Regions from separate parts of the Homo sapiens genome. Here regions 1 and 3 are each linked to region 2. The links are contacts of gene promoters, found by promoter capture Hi-C in human tissues and cell types (Jung and others, 2019). All regions are on one chromosome and are shown on one strand. Each heading gives the region's core, a stretch centred on a gene start or on the middle of the fragment in contact. The rest is flanking DNA. Distances are from core to core; before and after follow the strand shown.

The links. The method cuts DNA at HindIII sites, captures the fragments that hold promoters and counts their contacts. A contact is called where the count stands out against the background at its distance.
Region 1: a contact is called between a fragment that was not itself captured here and the fragment with the promoter of OTOR in region 2, in 1 of the 25 tissues and cell types used here (lymphoblastoid cells).
Region 3: a contact is called between a fragment that was not itself captured here and the fragment with the promoter of OTOR in region 2, in 1 of the 25 tissues and cell types used here (IMR-90 fibroblasts).

The regions. Positions count from the first base shown.
Region 1 is chr20:15,970,998-15,974,637 of GRCh38, reverse strand. The region is part of intron 13 of MACROD2 (mono-ADP ribosylhydrolase 2); the gene reads right to left. All of the region lies in intron 1 of LOC613266 (a long non-coding RNA gene), which reads left to right. Among named protein-coding and RNA genes, the nearest start is that of KIF16B, 600 kb to the left of the region's middle. The HindIII fragment of the contact is 4,573 bases long and covers 1-3,640 here.
Region 2 is chr20:16,746,964-16,750,213 of GRCh38, reverse strand. OTOR (otoraplin) reads right to left here and starts at 1,856. Exons shown (of 4, transcript NM_020157.4): 1 at 1,698-1,856; 2 at 1,208-1,347; 3 at 204-311. The coding sequence starts at 1,812. The HindIII fragment of the contact is 9,309 bases long and covers 1-3,250 here.
Region 3 is chr20:17,468,700-17,472,064 of GRCh38, reverse strand. The region is part of intron 11 of PCSK2 (proprotein convertase subtilisin/kexin type 2); the gene reads right to left. Among named protein-coding and RNA genes, the nearest start is that of BFSP1, 61 kb to the left of the region's middle. The HindIII fragment of the contact is 7,308 bases long and covers 1-3,365 here.

The DNA.
Region 1 (3,640 bases), core at 568-3,067, 780 kb after region 2:
ACTGTACATTCTATGGGTTTTGGCAATGTATAATGAAATGTATCTACCATTACTGCATTATACAGAGTATTTTCAATGCCCTAAAGATCCTCTGTACTCCTCCTATTCATCCCTCCCCACCCCCACAACTCCTGGCCACCACTGATCTTTTCATTGTGTCCATGGTTTTGCCTTTCCAGAATGTCATATAATTGGATTCATACAATATGTAGCCTTTTCACATTGGCTTTTTGCACTTAGTAATATGCATTTAAGTTTCCTACATGTCTTTTCATGGTTTGATAGCTCATTTCTTTTTAGTGCTGAATAATAACCTTTGGTTCTTTTACTCTAGTATTTTTATAGTTTCATTTCTATGTTTCATCTCTGCTCCTTCTGGAATTTATGTTGGTGAAAGGAATGAGGTTGGGATTCAGTTTATTTTCCCAAATGGCCAACTAGTTGTTTTAATGCCATTGATTGAGTCATCTGTCTTTGAAATGTCGGCCAGAATATGTACTGAAATCCCAGATCTACTTGGGTCTGTTTCTGAACTCTTTCATCTGTTTCATTGATCAGCCTGTCTATTCCTATAGCAAGGACTACCCTGCTAAGTACATTTTTCAAACAGTCCATGTCATCCGTAGTCTATTTGTTCTGTCATTGACTAATAATATTGTATCTGGGAACTCCTCATTGCATTTTCAACAGGTTTTTATTTGTATTGTATCTTGCCATATCATCTGACACAAAAAGCCCCATCACTATTATATTTCATCAGGAATTTAAATTGTTATCAATATCAAATAACCAACTCTTTGTCACTGGAGATTTTTTTGCTAGACTTCTAACCGAATAGATTGGTTCAAATAGAAGTAGTTCTTCATGTTTTCTTTTGATGCTCCTTTCTCAAATATACATTTTTCTAACTTTATACTTTTAAAGCTTTACCTTTTTATTGAGTTTAAGTCAATCTGAGTGGCTTTTACACTTATTAAAGTAACCTAATTACACTTACTGTTATAAGCATTTGCTTGTGTTTCTGTCATCTTATTTGATACATGAGGCTTTTGTTACACTGCTAGTTATTGTTATTATTTGCATTGCTGAGTATACTGTCATGTGATCTCTTTGGGAAATTTAGAAAGTAAGGTATCTTCTTTTAATTTTATTATTATTTAATTCTATTTGTGATTATTGTACAATTTTTCAGAGATATTCTGAAAGGTAACATATTGTCAGAATCCATAACACTGGGATTTTTAGTTTTTGAGTGGTATTTATGGAGTCAGGCTAATGTGCAACTCTTCCTTCTTCTAGCTATAATCTAGTTTTACAACCTCTGCCACTGATGCTTCTTTTCTTTCCTCCTTTCTTCATTCCCTTCCTCATTTCCTCTTTTTCTTTCTTCCTCTTTTAGACAATTTTATAAAATTGCGACAAATATATAGAAACACAGACAAAATATAGAGATATCAATTAAATAACCAAATGCAAATACAGAAACTATATATTTTTATGATAACCATCCAGCCAGGCAGCCCTCTCATGGCCCCCTCCCGGCAGTATCTCCTCTCCAATCACCAAAGTTTAATCAAAACCCTGACTGTCACAGTGATCAGTACCTAGGTCTTCTTTATCATTTTATCACCTAAACAAGCCTTTCTAAATGTTAATTTTTTTCCTGCTTTTTGAACTTGATATATGAGATTATATAATAAATAATATATGCTTTCATACCTTCTCTAATATTACATTTGTGAGATTCATCATGTTTTTGCATGTCATTGTAGTTTCTAGTTTCCATTGGGACCTTTTATTTATCTTTTTTTTTTCTTTTTTGACAGAGTCTTGCTCTGTCACTCAGGCTGGAGTGCAATGGTGCTGTCTCAGCTCAGGAGGCTCATTGCAACCTCTGCCTCCTGGATTCAAGTGATTCTCCTGACTCAGCCTCCCAAGTAGCTGGGATTACAGGTGCCCACCACCGTGCCTTGCTAATTTTTGTATTTTTAGTAGAGATGGGGTTTCACCATGTTGGCCAGGCTGGTCTCGAACTCCTGACCTCAAGTGATCTGCCCAACTCAGCCTTCCAAAGTGCTGGGATTACTGGCGTAAGCCACTGTGCCTGGCCTGATTTATCTTTATCTTTGTCTTCTATATGTAACTTGTCATTTTCCTCTGCTTGTTTTTGTGATTTTTCTCTTTATTGCTGGTGTTGAATAAATTGATTATGATGTACTTAGGTGTAATTTTCATTATGTTTCTTATGCTTTGGGGTCATAGAACTTCTTGCATATGTGGGTTGATAATTTCATCACATTGAAACATTTTAATCACTTTTACTTCAAATATTTTTTCTGTCCCTTTCTCCCACATTCACCCTCAGAGATTCACATTCATTTATATTGTAATTAGAACCACCCTTCAAGATGTCTCATAGCTCATGGATGCTCTTTTTTTTTCCCCTCAGTCACTTATTCTGTTTTCATTTGGATAGCTTCTATTGCTTCATCTTCAAGTTCATTAATCTTTTCTTCTATAGTATCTAATCTGCCACTGTTCTCATCAAGTATAATTTTTAATTCAGGCACTGTGTTTTGAATTCCTTGAAATTCAATTTGGGTCTTTCTATAACTTCTTTGTCTCGAATTAACATGGTCAGTCCTAATTTTAATTTTGTAAATATGTGGAACAGAGTTATAACAACTTTTAACATGCCCTTTCATATTAATTCTATCATCTGCATCATTTATGGGTTGAGTTCCATTTATCAACTTTTCTTTTCCTGTGCATCATACTTTCCTGCTTCCTGTCAAGAACTATGAAGACTCTGAGATTTTACCCTGCTTGAGCCACAGTTCCATGGATGCTGACAGAAGACAAAGACTTCTGGGTCAAAGATAAAGGACAGTTTATTATTCAGAGAAATCACAGTAACCAGAGTATTAGTGTCTGTTCTCTGAGTCCTGATTCCCACATGGTGCCATAGGTGGACCAGCTGATTCCTGCACACTCAGTGGGTGATATCATAGAGGAGGAATCTTGAACTTAGAGAATGTATTAGTCTATTTTCATGCTGCTATGAAGAAATACCCAAGACTAGGTAATTTATAAAGAAAAAGAGGTTTAATGGACTCACAGTTCCACATGGCTAGGGAGGCCTCATAATCACAGCAGAAGGCAAGGGAGGTGCAACCGCATGTCTTACATGGTGGCAGGCAAGAGAGTGTGTGCAGGGAAACTCCCCTTTATAAAACGATCAGATCTCATGAGACTTCTTCACTATCATGAGAACAGCATGGGAACGCCCACCCCTGTGATTCAATTACCTCCTACAGGGTCCCTCCCACAACACGTGGGGATTATGGGAGCTACAATTCAAGATGAGATTTGGGTGGGGACACAGCCAAACCATATCAGAGAATCTCAAGATTCTCTGAACCTTTTAAAATGCACAATAAGTATGTATGCTCTTTAATTTGAAGAGAAACATGATCCTTTTCAAAGATACAAGCAGTGCCTCTGCTCACAAAACATGCAGAAATATGAAAGATGCATGGAGAGTTGTCTTGCAATAATTCTTTGCATGCCTGGTAATTTTGTTGATTTTACTTTGTTGGGTATGAGATATATTTATAATTTTTATAAATATTTTTGAGCT
Region 2 (3,250 bases), core at 607-3,106:
GGTGGTATAGAGAAAGTTTACTCATCTTTCAACTTTGACAGTAGTTATAAATGGTCCCCCAAACCTCATTATCTCAGAAAAGTCGCCACTGAAAGTTGGAGGCTTTGTTCTATACAACTTGTAAGTTGCATGATGCATTTTTAACACCGGCCTACATTGCCCCAAGATCTGAGTCCTTGTCTAGTCACTTTTGAGATGCTTACCGTGGTGGGAACTTCCTTGGTAGCTTCCTGGTACACACGCTGTTCCTTGACCAAGTTCCTGGGGAAATAACCCACGACTCCCATCTCGTCCTGGCCATCACCATAAACCTAAGTGCCCAGAAGAATAGCAATCAGGAAAAAGCTGATGCTGAGTGTCTTCTGAGAAACTCGCAGGCGTCCTCTTTGCTGATAGTGAGAATCATAGCTGCCAATACCTCCCTTTCACTCCGGGGTCCAGGGGGCGCTGCGGCAAATCCGAAGTTTACTTGGAGCACTAAGTTAACCCGCAGGAATTGTGCATCTACTGTTTAGTGGCCCAGTCTTATTTCGCTACTTTAGCATGACTTTATTTTACGCAATCTTGTGAGTTGCCTGAAATCTTTTTTGAACCCATAAATAAATATATAAAGACAGTACATTTTTTTAAAGTACTGTAGACACTTATTTTAAATGATGCAAATTTCTCAGTTTTCAACAATTCAAATGAACAGACTTAAATGGCTTTAAATTTAATCCTTCATTAATTTAGAACTTACCTTTAGGGTTGCAGATGAGGACAGAAAATCATCCCTGCTTCATCCCTCCCCAGGGACCGCCCCTGTATATTTTAACTGAAGAACGCTGATTCTTTCGAATTAATTAGGGTGCAAAGTTTCCTAAAAGAATATTGATACTTAGACTCACTGCCAACACACATGCCTTCTACTTGGCAAATCTTCTCAGACGTTTTCGGATAAGATTCAAATTCTTTGGGATGTTTAAGCCCCCATGTATTTGACTCTTTTTTTACCAAAATATCACATTAACCTACATTTGGTTTTGTTACGAAATTGATCTTTCTTTCTTTAAAATGCAATAGCAAATATACCTGAATTTTTGCATTTCCATCTACAATCACTACATGGTTCTTAACAACTAGTATTAAGCATTAAAATAGGTTGAAGGTAGGTAATCAAGGAAAGGTTAAGAGCAATATTCGTCAATAGGTGTTTAAATTATCTTACACTGCCAGCCCAAAATTCTCCAGCTCCATTTTCTTTTACCAGCTTTGAGTACACATAGATCTGCTGCCCTTTTTTAACGTTAATGAATCTACAGTCCGGGGCATTATAATCTTCTTGAGCACTAGCCAGAGAAATAGTATCTGGAAGAAAAAAAATTTAAATGATTACATTTTAGGCTCCTGAATTTTATAACAGTAAAAGGCAATGTATATTAGAAAAACTAGAAAATCAGAGTGACTGATAATTCCCAGTTCATAGCTGGTGTCTATCCAAGAGAAAGAAGACAGCCAAGATATTAAAGCTGCAACAAAACTCAGCCAAGTGAATTCTCCGTAGTAAGATACCAAACATGCAGACCAGAAGAAACAAAGCTGATAACATACACATTGGAGAAGATTCACTTCAAAGTATAATTCGATTTTATGCTATTAGTGGATATATTTTCAATTATGTAATAGAAAGATAATGAAAAGCATAAAAAAGTCCTTACAGACACACTCATCATCTGCACAGAGCTTCTTGGAAGCTAGACGGTCCATAAATATTCCATGCACAGCACATACAGCCACAAGACCCGGGAGGAAAAGTAACAATATTCTTGCCATCTTCCTTTTTTCTGTTTTAACTTGAACTCTGACTGGAAGCGGGGACTGACTTCAGTGGTTCCTGCCTTTTATGTGAAAGCCAGAGCTCTGGGTAAATACCCTGGCCAATTAGAAGGGCCTACCACCCCTCCGTTTTCATAACAGGCTGCTCGGCTTCAGGGGCTATTTAGCGTCTGATTTTCCAAACAGAGTCAAACTCTGTGTCTTTCTATACACAGATAATATCCAAAATGGTCCACTATTGTTAAAGCCGCTTTAGCAGTGGTCTATTGTATCAATCAGTAGGGCTTTGCTGAGAGGACTATGAGAATTTCAAACCATTTTTAGTTTTAATTCACCCCTAATTTTCCTTCAGCTTATGAGCAAAGACATACTAGTTGTAGGAATTTGTTGAAAATGTGAGATCTATAGCACAAATAATTTGATTTAAACAAATTCAATTAATAAATCTGGATTTACGTAATAGATAAATGAAAGATTCTTATGCTTACAAATCTTTCATGATAGGATTCTTAGAAGGCATGCCTGTCCCAGGCTAGAGATGAATTCTAACATACTAATTGATGCCCCATTTAGACCCTACCAGTGGGGAAAGAGATGGGTGGGTTGGGAAAAATAGGTCAATCTTTCCCCTACCTCTTCTCTCTAAGACTTTTGCAATTCAGTCTCAAATGCTCAAGGGTGACAGGTCAAAGAGAAGAGAGTGAAGTTACAAGTTTATGTTACCTGGAACTTCCTGCTTCTGAGCATGTTTCCCATGGGGAGAGGAGCACTCCTAGAGGCACCAAAGTGGAACCGCCAGTCCCTAGCTCCGTCTATTCAGCAAATATTTACTGAGCACTTACTGTGCCAGGTATAGTTCTGGGCACTAAAGATATAGCAGTAAATTTAAAAAAAATATTTTGGCCCCAAGTGTTGCTTTCTATTAGAAGAGACAGACAGTAAGTTACTGCTTTTTATAGGGTGTTTGAGGCTGGCATCTCTCCCATAAGGTGGCCCTTCCCCTGTTCTTATCCATTGCTTCTAGAATAGAGATCCTCTCAGGATGCCTTCTCCACCTTGGTTGATGATGTGACTTCGGAGCAGTGCCTTCTCCCCCAACCCCAAAGTCGTAACCTCATAAAATGAGGGACAAGAATTTAACTTACTAAATAATTTTGTGCAATACAATTTCCCAAGGGATAAATGGGTAAGGCAAAATATAATAAAAAGGTTTTTTGTTTTGGGTATATGTGTGTGTGTGATAGAGTTGTATTGGTTTGAGTGCATCTGTGTGTGTATGTAAAAGAGTTTTGGTGTGGGTATGGGTGTGGGTATGTGTGGCTGTGTGTGAGTGTGTGTGTGTGGCTGTGTGTGTATGTGTGTGTGACTTTCAAGGGAGGATCTTTTATATAGCTGGTCCTGATTGGAAAGTCTGTTTTATTCATACCTTCATTAT
Region 3 (3,365 bases), core at 193-2,692, 720 kb before region 2:
TCCCCTTTGATTGTAGCTGAGCATCCTTCACTGACTCTCTTGATAAAGCCTCTTTAGAAAATTGCTTTTCAAATTGACTCCATCTCCGGGAAGATTAATGCCAAGGAAACCCACAAACCTGACAATCACCACTCACTCCACCTTGGAAGCTGTTTCTGTGCAGCCCTGCACATTATGGAGAGTGGCGATTGCCACGGCTGTTGATTCCTGTACCCCACCGCTCCTCGAGTGTGCTTCGTGGTCACAAGGGCCTCCTCTGTCAAGCGGCACAGCCAGCCCTGGGGCTGCTCTCCAAATCTCCCTGTGGAGCCTCTGCATTCTTCAACAAGTGTATTTGCCCTAGACCTAACTCATCTGCATCTGAGAACAAGTTCTGGTGTGGGGGTGGACGAGGGACCGGAGGGCACTGAGAGGAGGCAGAGCCCTTCCAACCAAGGCAGAGCCTCCTTCCCACATTTGCCTTGCTGGCCCGCCGGTCCTATTGCCAGCAGTCAGACATTTCCCTTGTGTCCGGCTGCTGCTGGCTGAATATTTTCATTCCCTCATTCATTTAAAAAATATTTATCACCTGTCTACTATATGCCCAGCACTATTGTAGGCACTAGGGTTACACCATGAATATGACAGACGAGGGCCCAGTCCATTGGGAGGCCCCAACTGAGTTAGTGCTGAAATATAGTGCTTTCCCATTTCTCTTCATTGAAAACACTGCATTGATCTTGCATAAAGTTCCTGGATAGTTGTGAGATGTTGGGATGATCACATCTCCGGACCTCAGATTCCTTACAGGGACTTGGATAACATTATTTCCAGTGTTCTCTCTGGCCTTAAATTCCACATGTATGCAGATTATGATGGAATGCTAAGCATATTCAGAAACTGGGAGATAAACTGCCGTTCATCTCAGCATACGCCCTCATTCCCTCTCTCTCCTTCTCTCCCGCGGTGCTCCCCTCCTGCCCTCTCTCATAATCATATGGTGCTTGACGATCATTAGAAGTCCGTCTGGCTTGTCCAGTGCAATCTCAGAAAATATAGCCTGGTATTGACACGTAGCTTGACTAAGAGGGCCGCAGTACATTCCAAGCTAACTCTTCCCCTAAATACTGCAACGGTGCTGCCTTTTTGTTAATTGTAAATATTGCTTATATGCAAGTAAGTGTAGATATCGTGCCAGTTGCACTGCCTGTGAGGGACATTCCAGCCCCCACTCCCTGCTTGCAGAGTGTCTGTAAAGGCACAGACATCGTAAGTCTTTCTCCTTTTGCAATAAGGGAATGAGGTACCAGGCCCCAGGGCCTTGTGGAATGGATAAGGACATTGGAGTTAAGGCCGTTTGCTTTATTTGTCTGATCCTGTTTTCTCACCTAAATTAAGACTAGGGATGCCAACCTCCTGTGATTAAATGAGATAGTGGAATAAAGTGCTATCCCAGTGACTTTCCGAGAGAAGTTCTTAGCAGCAGTTCTTACTAGCACCCTCCCAAGGCTGCCTTTAGGCTTCTAGGATGCTGCAATTGGATGTCGTGCTGGGGGAAGGCATGAGGCTATAAAATGGACCAGCAAGCCTTTCTTGCAGTCTCATCTTCTTGACACCCCTTCATAGAGTTTATGTTATTAAATCTCCACTTCCCATTCGGTTTGCACAATTCAGCATCCCTCCTGCTAAGATGTAACTACCAGATGTGCCTTAGACATGGCTGTCCAAGATGGTAGCCACCAGCCACATGTTGCTATTTAAATTTAAATTAATGAGAATGAAATAAAATGAAAACTCTTGTTTCTTAATCACGGTCATCCACTTTCTAGCACTCAATAGCCACAAGCTATTGTATTGGACAGTGCAGAACATTTTCACCACTGCAGAAAGTCACTGCACTTCCAAATTTCTCAAGAAATTATTCTGAACTCTAACAAGGGAAACAGTTGTCAACGCCCATTTCATGTTGACTTTGGGTAAAGTTAGTTATGATGAGTAGGGTTTAGCCTTAAATCCCCCATTTGGACAGTGGTTCCCAGTCTTGTCTCTTTGTTCATTCCCAAAAGACACGGCAGACCTTGGCATTGTAGACCAGTGAAAAGGGCCTCTGGAATGCCAGTGATGGGGTTTGGGAGATGGGAGCACCCACTAGGTGGGTGTTTCAGAATCCCCAGGGGAATGTTTACTGAAACTCCCTCCCCTACCCAAGCCTCACCTTCTCCAGGGGGAGTCACTGAGATACCTGAGAGCCCACCGTGAGGGGTCAAAGTGACTGGGCTCAGATCCCAGTTTGGCTGCTTAGTAGCTGGATGACATTTAGCATGCCCTTGACCTTTCCCAACCTCCTGTCATCAGTAATGGCACTGTGAGCTCACAGTAGGGCTGCTCTCACATACGGCCTAATGTAGGACCTGTATGCACGGGAGCTGATTAAGGTCAAGGTCATGTAGTGAAAAGAGCCTGGGGTTTGGGTTTAGATGGGCTTTGCTTCAAGTCCTGCTCTGCCCTTTGTGACTCTGAGCACATTTTTTTTTTTTTATCCTTTCTGGATCTCAGCTTCCTTGTGTATAAAAAGTAATAATGATAGGACACACCTCCTGGGCTTACAAGGATTAAATACAGTAATGTAAATGGGCCTAGCATATACCACACCTAGTTGGTGTTTCTCCCTGACACCCAGCATGGGACCAGTTTGTTGTTAAGGCTGCAAAATATTCACCCCTGCTCCCACCTCGACTGTGCGAGTATAAGGCACACCCTCAACAATAGGGTGGCTGTGAAGCTTACGTGTATGAAAGCACATAGCATGCAGTTGGCACTCAATAAAAGTGACTTCCAGTCTCACATTTACAGCCTCTGTGGGCTTGACTGTGTCAATCAACTTGTTTAGAGCTCAGAGAAGTCTGTCCTGCCAAGAGGAGGGATACGGGAGTGAACAGAAATGATGTGTGGACACAGAAGCTTTGGAAAATGGTGAGGAACTGTGCAGAGTAGCTATTTTTATTATAGGACATTTGTAACATCACTTGGGACTTGGGCAGCTCTGTGTTTTTAGATTATTATAGGGCTTGGGCTGAAGCTTTATTTTTTCCATGTGGTGCTGATTAGAGTGAGGCCTTCTTAAATCATGGACTGTTTCATGGAAAAAAAATACTCAGCTTGGCAGTAATCCACTTGGTGCCACTTTCTAGGGGTTCAGTGAGTAAACAATGAGGATGCTCACTCATGGGAAGATGCTTGTCCATGGGAGGATGCTGGCCCTTGGGAGGATGCTGACCTATGGTGGGCTGCCCGTCTATAGCAGGATGCTGGTCTGTGGGAGGATGCTGACCTATGGTGGGCTGCCTGTCTACAGCAGGACACTGGCCCATGGAGGGTGCTGACCT